Linked DNA regions of Homo sapiens: region 2 is linked to region 1. Evidence: promoter capture Hi-C in 16 types of primary human blood cells and fetal thymus (Javierre and others, 2016). All regions are on one chromosome and are shown on one strand. Each heading gives the region's core, a stretch centred on a gene start or on the middle of the fragment in contact. The rest is flanking DNA. Distances are from core to core; before and after follow the strand shown.

Evidence for each region. Contacts are between HindIII fragments. The CHiCAGO score rates a contact against its expected background, and 5 or more counts as called.
Region 2: a fragment that was not itself captured here is called in contact with the fragment with the promoter of ZFYVE27 in region 1 in 7 of 17 cell types (M2 macrophages, naive CD4 T cells, non-activated CD4 T cells and 4 more); the score reaches 8.3 in M2 macrophages.

The regions. Positions count from the first base shown.
Region 1 is chr10:97,732,246-97,738,390 of GRCh38, reverse strand. It overlaps ZFYVE27 (zinc finger FYVE-type containing 27), which reads right to left and starts at 1,263. Exons shown (of 13, transcript NM_001385875.1): 1 at 1,070-1,263. RefSeq lists a silencer at 998-1,067 and an enhancer at 1,398-1,547. The HindIII fragment of the contact is 3,622 bases long and covers 1-1,933 here.
Region 2 is chr10:97,855,620-97,861,764 of GRCh38, reverse strand. It overlaps GOLGA7B (golgin A7 family member B), which reads right to left. Exons shown (of 5, transcript NM_001010917.3): 2 at 2,182-2,307. Among named protein-coding and RNA genes, the nearest start is that of GOLGA7B, 8.8 kb to the right of the region's middle. The HindIII fragment of the contact is 2,741 bases long and covers 936-3,676 here.

The sequences.
Region 1 (6,145 bases), core at 14-2,513:
AAACCTGTGAGCAAGGGAAAGTGAACTATTCAGACCTAAAATCCTGTTCTTTGTACTCTCCATCCAATGCTCTTTTCCCCAAAGATCCATCAAAACTAAAAATCATAAAAACCAAGCATAAATGATCGCTGCAGCGAGGCAGCCCATGGGCTGAAATGAAATGATGTCCTGGAACATTTTTCTCCCACTCTTTACCTGGTTAATTCCTACTCATCCTTCAGGTATCAGCTTAAACATCACTCCCTTACTCTGGGAAGTCTCTGCCAACACCCCCAACTCTGGACTGGGAGACCCTCTCCGATGCTCCCAAAGGATCACGTACTCACCCTAACAGAGCACTTATCACATCACATCGCTTCTTGGCCTTGTGGCTAAGATCAAGTGCAGAGCACTGACCACGTCAAAGTAAAACTCCCTGCTCTTAACTGGCCTCCATTCACGACTGCTTCTGTACACAGTGGGTGCTTAACAAATGCCTGCTGAATGAGTGAATGAAATACCGTGCTCCAGGACTCTCGCCCGATCCTCTAACTCTTCCCACTCCCTTCGGTTCCCAACAACTTCCTGGGCCATCTCTGCCCCAGGGCAGTCGGCATCAGAACGCCCCATTCCCGTCTGCCCTTTCTGATGAGGAAACCGAGGAGCCTTTACGGTCTTTCCCAGTTCAAAGTCCTATCCTGAACTCTAAGCAGCAAACGAGGGGGCGGAACCTCGGCGAAGAGCAACATAAACCAGTCCCAGGCAATCAGCCGCGACCTGATGGGAGGGTGAGGGGATGGGACAAAGGGGCCAACGGGACCCCGAAATCCCCGCAGGCCGAGCCAAGGCGAAAGGGCACAGAGCGGCGCCAGGTATGAGCCCAGGAAGGGGCGAGGTATATCGACGCCCGCACTGGCCTTGGCCAACACCTCTGCAGCCAGGGGGGCCTGATGGAGCCCGTGAGGCTGGACAGGGAAGGCCATGCCCGAGGTCGTGGGGCCAGCATGTGGCGGCCCCCGCTGCGCCCAAGCACCCAACTACACACAGCCTGCGGAGACACTGGGACGCGGGGGGACGGCACCTCACCTACCCGGCCGCTGGCTCCGTGAGGGAGGCGGCAGGGTCGGGCAGGAGCAGGGGTAGAGCCACTGGGCCCCGGAGCGTTTCTTCAGGCCTCCCCCGGCTGAACGCCGCTCCTCCTGCCAGGGTTGTTCGGAAGTCGCAGGTCCGAAAATCTCCTCCGCCTACGCCGCGGCCGCCACCGCCGCTTCCGGGACGCGAATCGCTCTGCGGCTGCGTCCTCATGACGTCATCCCGCTCCGGGTTTAGCTCCGCCCACCCCAGCACAGGCAAGCACCCTTGCCAGCAGTGCGCCTGCGCGTCTTTCCCGCGCGCTCCAGGCTGGAGTTAATTCTGTCCTTGGCCGGCCGCCGTTCACAAAGCCTTGAGGACCCTTGGAAGCACGTGCTTGGCGACCCTGCAGCTCGTTGCCCTGCCTTGCCGCAGGGAACAGTTGGCGAGAGGCTTAAATGAAGAATTTACGTCTTCATCCTCTTTCCTTCCAACTTTGGAACTGAACTGGGGACTGTGTGTGAGCCCCGGAAAGACACCGTATCCTGTATGAGATGCCCAGCAGAGCATGCAGTTGTTTCCGGAGTAGCTAGTGTGTACAAGGTCCTGTGCAGGCCTCTCCCAGCTCAGTTCACTTCACACCGTGTGGCCCAGTTAATTTCCCTTAAAGCACACATCCGATGGCTTTATATTAGTGACTTAGCGCTCAGGTACAGAGGAGCCAAGCACTGAACCGGACTGAGCTCTTTTTAGACATTATCTAGTTCTCCTCCAACGACCCTATTAGGGTTGTCGCCATTTTACAGATGGGGAATCTCAGACGTGTTAAGGAACTTCTTTAGAGTCACAGCTAAGAAGCAAATGGGAGCTGGAATTTGAAGCTTATGTGTCATCTGACCCCAACGCCCCAACCATACCACCACCCACCTTGGTCTGCATTTCCTGGTCTTGTCTCCTGCCATCTTTCAGCTGCCTTTAACTTTGGCCAACTGAACCCCTCCACTGTTACCCTCAAATGCCCCTGGCACTCAAATGTCTGTATCCCTTCCTTGAGTGCCCCAGCTGGAAGTAATCACTTCCCTCTTCAAGTAGCCACAGAGCTTTAACTGCATCTCTTCCTCCATTATCTCCTTTCAGAAAGACAGGCCCATCCCTCCAGCCAGGACTTAGCTGTGCTCCAGGGTCCAACTCTTATTTCCTTAGGGCTTTGCTCTAACAGGCCTGAAATCTTGACTCTCGCTAACTCTTAATCATCATTCTAGAGACAAAATTCATGGAAAATTTCTCCTTTAGCCTAACTTTACCCCCTCTTTCCTACATGAGTTGGAAGACTCACTGTGAAGTGCTCTCTACCGCTGCTTCCTCGCCCAATTCACTCCTCACTGCACTGTGGTCCTGCTCCCCTCCATATTTCTGGGCTACCTGCCTGCTCACCTGTGACATCCTGGCTGCTAAATCCAATGGACACTTCCCAGTCCTCCTTGCAGATGACCTCAGAAGCACTGGAATCTCTTTCCTTTTTGGCACCATTGTCCACCTTAGCTTCCATGACACCACCCTCTCCTCTCTTTCCGACCTTCAAGGTCTCCTTAGGGCTTTTCTTCCTACCCCTCAAATGCTGGGGCTCCTTTTGCTACCCTTCTTTCTTCTGACTCAAGGCACTCCGTGAGGATCTCATTCACTCTTGTGGCTTCTGTCAGCTAATGTTTCGTTTCCCGTGTCTATGTCTCCAGCACCTAAAGCAGTACCTGGCACATAGTAGGCATTCTGTTAAGAAGGGTTGCAAGATGTTACCATTGGGGGGTAGTCTGTGGGATCACCCTGTGTTAGTTCTTATAACTATGTATAAATTGACGATTGTCCCAAAAGTAAATGCTTACCCTGTGTAGGTATTTTTCTCAAAGCTCCCTGCTTTAGTTGACTTTGTCAATTACCCGGCATGCGCCAGTCCCAACATAAGTAAGGTAGGAGGGCTTCTCCTCAGATGAATTGCTTGGTTGGTTTTTCCAGCTGTAAAATGGGGATAACCATAGTGGTACCCTCAGTGTGGGGCTGTGATGAGAATTAAATGAGCTAAAGTATGTAAATTCCTGACATGTTATAAGTGTTCAAAAATCGTTAGCAATCATTGTGATTTTTATTTTTACTCAAAGCCCTACCACCACCACCCCTAGCCCAAAAATCAGACAAGAATCCACGAAAGGCCAAAATGTAGAAAGATCCAATTCCCACACATATCACTAAGCCATATACAGAAATCCACTCACCACCCCTTAGAGAAATGGACTGAGCTTTGTGGTGGTCCAGGCCCATCTGCTGGACTCTGCCTCTCCTCCCTTAGGATGGGTCTTTTCCCCGAAAGCTCCTGGGTCTGTCATGCAGATAGCCTCTGAAGGCCCCTCTTCTTCGTTTCCTAACCTGGCCTCAGGTCTGAATTCCAGGATAGGCCATCGCCACTCCCCACCCACTCCCATCCCCCACCCTGTCCACCCCTCTGTACCTTTCTCAGACCACTCTCTTGGTGGATAGTTTCAGTGGCCCCCTGTGACCTCCAGGATAAAACCAAAGCCTGGTGTATTCAACTCTGGCAGTTCTCGGATATGTCACACCTTCTCCCATTACTGTACCTTTCTACAGACTACTCTCACCTTTTTTTTTTTTTTTTTTTTGAGATAGAGTTTTGCTCTTGTTGCGCAGGCTGGAGTGCAATGGAGAAATCTTGGCTCACTGCAACTTTTGCCTCCCAGGTTCAAGCGATTCTTCCGCCTCAGCCTCCTAAGTAGCTGGAATTACAGGCATGCACCACCATGCCTGGCTAATTTTTTGTATTTAGTAGAGATGGGGTTTCACCATGTTGGCTAGACTGGTCTCAAACTCCTTACCTCAGGTGATCCACCTGCCTCGACCTCCCAAAGCGCTGGGATTACAGACGTGAGCCACTGCGCCCCATATTCTTTAGTTGGCCAGCTCTTATTCTTCCTCCAAAATTCAGCTCAGATCTCACCCCTGAAGAAAGACTTCTCTGACACCTTCCCCATCAGCAGCCACTGTCTGGATTACGTGCCCTTCTGACTTGGCTCCGTGGGCCTGCCCCACCCCAGCACTTGGTGCCTCCTCCTCTCTCTAGACAGTGAGAGTCCTGAGGGAACTGCCTATAATTTCTGTGTCCAGCATCTAGCACAAAGGAGGTACCAACAAATGTTCCTTGAATGAGCGCATGCGTGTCAGTTTCCTCTTGGAGCACAGAATTCACATCTCTTTCAACAAAAGCCCCAGAACAATGCCCATTTCTTTTTTCTTTTTCTTATCTTTCTTTCCTTTTTTAATGTAATTTTATTTTATTTTTGAGATAGGGTCTTCTGCTGCTGCCCAGGCTGCAGTGCAATGGTGCAATCATAGCTCACTCTAATTCCTGGGCTCAAACAATCCTCCTGCCTCAGCCTCCAGAGGAGCTGGGACTACAGGTGCACACCACTAACACCTAGCTACTTAATTTTTATTTTTATTTTTTTTTGAAACGGAGTCTCACTCTGTCATCAGGCTGGAGTGCAGTGGCACGATCTTGGCTCACTGCAAGCTCCGCCTCCCGGATTCAAGCGATTCTCCTGCCTCAGCCTCCCGAGTAGCTGGGACTACAGGTGCACACCACCACGCCCAGCTAATTTTTGTATTTTTAGTAGAGACGGGGTTTCACCATGTTGGCCAGGATGGTCTCGATCTCTTGAGCTCGTGATCTGCCTGCCTCAGCCTCCCAAAGTGCTGGGATTACAGGTGTGAGCTACCGTGCCTGGCCAATTTTTTTTTTTTTTTTTTTTTTGTAGAATGAGGTGTTGCTATGTTGCCCAGGCTGGTCATGAATCATTTCTTAAAACAATGACTGTGAAACCAGCAAGAATGAACTGGACAGAAATTCTACCCTCTATGAACTCTTAGTTCAACAGAAGACGCTGACTTGACTGAGCCATGATATAAAGCAGGGGATTCTACTGTAACCGTAGGAGCAGAGAGAAGAGGCAGACTTAATCTAAGTGAGAGGATGGGGAAAGTTTTGTGTTCAACAATGTAGTATTTAAGCTAAGGAGTCCCCACCCTTCTTAAGAAAAATAAATTTTTTTCTTTAATAACCTAAGTACCGGTCAGGCACAGTGGCTCACACGTGTAATCCCAGCACTTTGAGAGGCTGAGGCGGGCAGATCACCTGAGGTCAAGAGTTTGAGACCAGCCTGGCCAACAAGGTGAAACCCCGTCTCTACTAAAAATATAAAAATCAGGCCGGGCGCGGTGGCTCACGCCTGTAATCCCAGCACTTTGGGAGGCCAAGGTGGGCAGATCATAAGGTCAAGAGATCGAGACCATTCTGGCTAACACGGTGAAACCTGGGCTCTACTAAAAATACAAAAAAATTAGCCGGGCATGGTGGTGGGCGTCTGTAGTCCCAGCTAGTGGGGAGGCTGAAACAGGAGAATGGTGTGAACCCAGGAGGCGGAGATTGCAGTGAGCCGAGATCATGCCACTGCACTCCAGCCTGGGCGACAGAGCTAGACTCCGTCTCAAAATAAATAAATAAATAAATATAAAAATTAGCCGGGTGTGGTGGCGCGTGCCTGTAATTCCAGCTACTTAGGAGGCTGAGACAGAAGAATTGCTTGAACCCAGGAGGCGGGGGTTGCAGTGAGCGGAGATCGTGCCACTGCACTCCAGCCTGGGCGACAGAGCAAGACTCTGTCTCGAAAAAATAATAATAATATATATATCCTAAGTGCCTGAAATTCTCACACTGGTAATTTACTCCAAAGGTAAATTTTAGTTTCTTTGCAATTCCTCCTCCTTGGCCTCAGTCTGACAGTGGAGAGTAATAGTATTTGTTTTCTCTTCCAGCAGCTATAGAATTGAGAGATATTATTCAAGAATTTCTAGACATTATCTGGAGGGAACATTGGAGGATACAAGAAGGCTTTAAAAACCAGAAAGGGACAATAGTCGTGGCCTGTAGCGATGAATAAAGGCCTCCCCTTATAATTAAGAGACGGACCAGCTTGACTGTGCTCTCTCGAGTCTAATTCTGATTTTTCCATAATCAAGTTCTAGTTCCTTC
Region 2 (6,145 bases), core at 1,057-3,556, 120 kb before region 1:
GAAAGCTGGCTCCGGGTCATATCAGTACAGACCATCCCTGCCCCCACTTCCCAAACCCATTCAGATCTACCTGGGCTGCTGAGTGAAAGCTCAGGATCTGCCTTCTGGCTTCCCCAGTCCCAGGCCCACTCTAGGGCAGCCTAGGATGAAAGCTGAGGACACCCCTGGACCAGAAGCAAAACTCAGCAGCTGATGCCTCACAGCAGCCTGAGGTCCATGAGTCACCCAACTAGCTGAGTCTAGAGGCAGAGGCTGTAGGCAGAGCCCTTGGCTGACTGCCTTTTATGCCACCCAGCAGACTGTGGGATGGTGCATCTGGCTCTCCCCTTTGCCTGAGGCAAGGAGAAGGGAAAAGCAGCCTGCAGCTCTTCCTTTGAGTCTCTAAGCTTTCCCTGCGAGACTGTGATCATGAAGACATTTAGTTTGATCTGTACCCACAAAAGATGCAATTGTGTCAGCAAGAAAATAAGAGTCCTGTGAAAAAGCAGAGAGGCGGGGCACTTAAGCCTGTCTGGTACTTACTAACTCCCATAAGTCACTTCTTTCTGGCCCTCAGTTTCCTCTGTTAAATGAGAGGGATGGACTAGTGTGGAGCTTCTCAAAATTTCATGCATATCTGAATAACCCAAGGAATAGATTAAAACCCAGATTCGGATTCAGCAGATCCAGGGAGGGAGCTGAGATTCTGCATTTCTATCAAGCTCCCAGGTATTGTTGATATTGTTGATCCACAGGCCACAGTTTTAGTAACAAGGACTTAATGGTTCTCAGCTCCAGCTGCAAACTGAAATTATCTGAGCAGCCTTTAAACCCTATGATGCCCAAGTCTCCCCCACCAGGAGATTCTGAGTCAATGGTCTGGGAAGGGGGAGGATAGGTCAGAGCAGCAAAGATCACCACTGCCCTGCCCTACCCAAGCTGACGCCCTGCAAGCTTCCTTTTTCAAAGTTCCCAGGTGCCTCTAAGGTGTAGCCAAGGATGAGAAGCAGCGCTGTTTCTGAAGAAGACCAGCTGAACAAGACTAGCAATTCCAAGTGTAATCTATGAACCACTTGATTCTGATTCACCTGGGAATTCCTCATTAAAAATTAAGGCTTAAGACCTAGTATTTGGGCTGGGCATGGTGGCTCACACCTGTAATCCCAGCACTTTGGGAGGCCGAGGAGGGCGGATCACTTGAGCCCAGGAGTTTGAGACCAGCCTGGGCAACATGGCAAAACCCCGTCTCTACTAAAATTACAATAAATTAGCCAGGAGTAGTGGCACGAACCTGTAACCCCAGCTACCTGGGAGGCCGAGGCAGGAAGATCACCTTAGCTGGGAGACAGAGGCTGCAGGGAGCTGTGGTCACACCACTGCACTCCATCCTGGATTTCCATCAAGGGAAAAAAAAAAAGACCTAGTATTTGATAGCACAACAGGGTGACTATAGTCAATAATAATTTAATTGTACATTTTAAAATAACTAAAAGAGTATAACTGGATTGTTTGTAACAGATAAGATAAATGTCCGAAGTAATGGATGCCCCATTTACCCTGATGTGATTATTACACATGGCATGCTTGTATCAAAATATCTCATGTACCCCTGCTAGGTACCCACAAAATTATAAATAAATAAATACTAAAGTTTAAACAATCATGATTAAAATTCATTTCAAAATTAAGATTTAAAACTATGCTGATTCCAGAGTCCCACCCCTAGAGAGTCTAATGTAGTTGGTTTGGGCTGCAGTCTGAGCATCAGGATTTTTTAAGCTCCCCAGGAACCTCTAATGTACAGCCAAGGTTGAGAACAGCTGCTAATAAATGGAGACTCCTGAGCCACAGTCCAACAACTGGATCAGCACTGCTGGACAACACCTGTATCATCCAGTAGGACTCAGGAATTTCCATTTGTTTAACAAGCTCTCTATATCATTTTTAGGCAACTGAAACTTGAGAGCAGCCAGACCAGAAAATCCCTGAGATCCCTTCAGCTCTAATTTTCTATGAGGAGACAGTAAGACAATATTAAGAATCATCCTTTTGATTTTTTAAAATTCATCCTTTTGAAGTGGCCAAACATGTTACGTGTCCTATGATATTATGTGTCATAGGATCCTGGATAAAATACATTCCAATAAGAACCTCAGTTCCATCACAGCCCTGGGTTCCAAGTGCAGAAAAAGGCATCCTTACCCGGCTGTCCAGCTCTGGGGGGAATTTGGTCTGGAACTGACAGATGGTCCCATCGCTGTAGTCTCTCTGGATAAAGACCTTGGTGGCCAGTGAGGCACTTCGCCGGAGCTCCTGCAGATTGTGGACCTGAGGAGACGTGCGGGCGGCATGTGCTGAGAGTGACCATCCATCTCGGCATATCCCAAATGCAGGGGTTTCCCAGAATGCAGGTCTTCCAGCACTAACACCAGGAAAGTTCCCAGCATGCAGAGACAAGCTGGGCACTCTACAGGTGCTCCAAGAGGCCAAGGGAGGCAGGGCTGTGGGGTCTACCCAAGAAGCTGCCCTGAGCTATCCCAGAGAGATCTTTTAAAAGCCTAAAGCAAGGCTGGGTGCAGTGGCTTGTGCCTGTAATCCCAGCACTTTGGGAGGCTGAGGTGGGAGCATTGCTGGAGTCCAGGAGTTAAAGGCTGCAGTAAGTTGTGATTGCACCACTGCACTCCAGCCTGGGTGACAGAGCAAGACCCCAACTCTAAAAAAATTTTTAACAAGCCTAAAGCAGGGCCAAAGTTGAGTCTCTCTCGCACGTGCACGTGCACACACACACACACACAGAAGAACCTTTCATACTTTCATTCATTCACCAAGTACCAAGCGTTCACTTGTGAGACCCTGTGCCTGGGGAACCCAGCACTGAACAAGACCAGTGCTCCAGTCCTGCCAAGTGGAGCTCACAACAGAGTTGCAGGCAGGGAACATGTGGGACAGAGGAATACCTGAGGTACCCCTGAACTCAGAGACTGGGGTCCAGGCCGAGTTTTATGGCCCCGGCCAGAGAGCACCCCAGATGCTTTTCACATCCAGCACTTCTCACCACAGGAAACAAAGGGCCCATGAATGTCCAAACTTCTCCAGAGAATAGTGTAGATGAAATGGACAGAGGCCAGAAATGGAAGAAATAGCCTTCCCTGGCAGGAAGGAGAGGGGAGATATCTGTCCCTTGTGCACATCTGTGGACTTCACATTGACACAGACTCTAGTGTTTGAGGGGAATGGGCTCAATTCCACAGAACAAGCCCACTTTTTCCACCTCTCCAGCCTCAGTCACCCACATTCAAGACAAGCATCCCACTGGTTGAAATATGCCCAACACTGAGAACACGTGGAGACCAAGCCCCAAAGGCAGAGTGAACAACAGCCAGTTCATCCCATGTAATTAAGCTGGATCCATTCAGTCACTCAGCTCTCATTTATTGAGTCTCTCCTAGTGCCAAGCTCTGGGGGTGCTGAGCAAAAGAGTCTGTGAGCTCCAGGGAGGAAGACAAGTAAATATATAATGAATTAGACAGTGACAAATGCCACAGAGAAGTAACATCTTACCCAGAAATGCTCACTCAGAAAAGGCCTCCTGAAGCCTGTGTTGAGTCATAAAGGAAGTCCAGGGGTTACCAGTAGCAGGGGGCAGGCAGAGAGTGTGGAGAGGGAGGAAAAGGCAACCCAGGCAAAAAGAGAAGCTTGCGCAAAGTGACAAAGATAGAGCACATGGTCTACTAGAGGCAGATTTCAGCAAGAATGGAGGTGGTTTGCAGATTAGATAAGAAACAGTGGGAGATGAGATTGTAGAGGAGGCAAGGGTCAGATCACAAGAAGCAGGAAAGATTCCTGCTGAAGGGGAGGATTTAGGATGACAGATACTTAAACTTGCTTAAACACCGGGGAAAGACTGTGTTAAAGATCAGTTGGTTATAGGTATGTTGCTTTATTTCTGGGTTCTGTGTTCTGTTCCATTGGTCTATGTGTCTATTTTTGTACCAGTAACCCATACAAAACCTGCTGTTTTGGTTATTATAGCCTCGTAGTATAATTTAACGTCAGGCAATGTAATTTGTTCTTTGCATAGGATTGTTCTTTGCATAGGATTGTTCTTTGCATAGGATTGCTTTGGCTATTCAGGTTCTCTTTTGGTTCCATATAAACTTTAGCATTGTTTTTTCTAATTCTGTGAAAAATGATATTGCTAATTTGATAGGGATTGTGTTAAATCTGTAGATTGCTTTGGGCCGCATGGTCATTTTAATGATGTTGATTCTTCCAATCCTTTAGCATGGGATGTCTTTCCATTTGTCTGTGTTATCTACGATTTCTTTCATCAGTGTTTTGTAGTTCTCCTCATAGAGATCTTTCATTTCCTTGGTTAAATGTGTGTGTGTGTGTGTGTGTGTGTGTGTGTGTGTGTGTGTGTCTGGCTATTGTAAATGGGATGGGGAAAGGACTCCCTATTCAATGAATGGTGCTGGGAAAACTGGCTGACCATGTGCAAAAGAATAAACTGGACCCCTAGTTCTCACCATATACAAAAATTAATTCAACATGGATTAAAGACTGAAATTTAAGACATGAAACTGTAAAAATTCTAGACGAAAACCTAGGAAAAACTCTTCTGGATATTGGCCTAGGCAAATAATTTATGATGAAGTCCCCAAAAGCAAATGGAACAAAAACAAAAATAGACAAATGGGACTTAATTAAACTAAAAAGTTCTGCACAGCAAAAGAAATAATCAACAAAGTATACAGACAACCTACAGAAAGGGAGAAAATATTTGCAAATTATGCCTTTGACAGAAGACTAATATCCAGAATCTATGAGGAACTCAAACAATTCAACAAGAAAAAAAACAACCCCATTAAAAACTGGGCAAAGGACATGAACAGACATTTCTGAAAAGAAGAAATACATGCTGCCAATAAACGCATGAAAAATGATCAACATCAATAAGCATCAGAGAAATGCAAATTAAAACCACAGTGAGACATCATGCTACACCAATCAGAATAGCTATTATTAAAAAAACAACAGATGCTGGCATAGATGCAGAGAACAGGGAACACTTATACTCTGTGGGTGGAAATGTAAATTAGTTCAACCTCTATGGAAAACAGTATGAAGATTTCTTAAATAACTAAAAAGAGAACTACCATTCAACCCAGCAATCCCACTACAGGGTATCCTCCCAAAGGAAAATAAATCATTATGTTAAAAAGACACCTGTACTCATATGTTCATCATAGCACTATTCACAATAGCAAAGTCATAGAACCAACTTCAGAGTAACAACCATCAACACTTGACTGGATAAAGAAAATGTGGTATATATACACCATGGAATACTACACAGCCATACAAAATAATAAAGTCATATCTTTTGCAGCAACATGAGTGGAGCTGGAGGCCATTATCCTTAGTGAACTAACTTAGAAACAGAAAACCAAATACCACAAAACACACTTTCTCACTTATAAATCTAAGCTAAACAAGAGGTACACATGGATATGAAGATGAAAATAATAGACACTGGGGATTCCAAAAGAGGGGAGGGGGTGAGGGTTAAAAAATTACCCATCGGGTACAATGTTCACTACTTGGGTGATGGGTACACTAGAAGCCCAATCTCCACCAATATGCAATATACCCATGTAACAAACATGCACATGTACTCCCTGAATCTAAAATAAAATAAAATTTAAAAACAAACAAAAATCTTGGGAAATAATAAATAACTAGGAAAGGTTATCAATAAAGTAGAAGGAGCAGATAATTGGTAGATCAAGGTCCTGAAAAGGTGGGAATCCAAAAACACTATATGTGACTTTCCTAAATCCAGGTGGACCTTGCTGTATGTACGAAATGTGATCTCAAAGTATTGTGACTGGATTAAATAATGTATAAGCCCTCCTGTAGGCTTATATGAGTTGATTCCTCTAATCAAGGTTTTCATTGAGGAAATCCCCTTGATATCTACTAGGAACCTATGATAACTCGGAGAAATAAGGAATGCTTTGGTAATATAAATAAGTTAATTGTTAACATGTCTGCTCTGGTTAAGGTTTTATAATGTTGTATTTTCAAGAGTAAAGAACAAGGCTATGGCCTTCCTCTGCCCCTCTAAAACCAACTTATGAAAGTCAGTCAATCTTGAGGATGG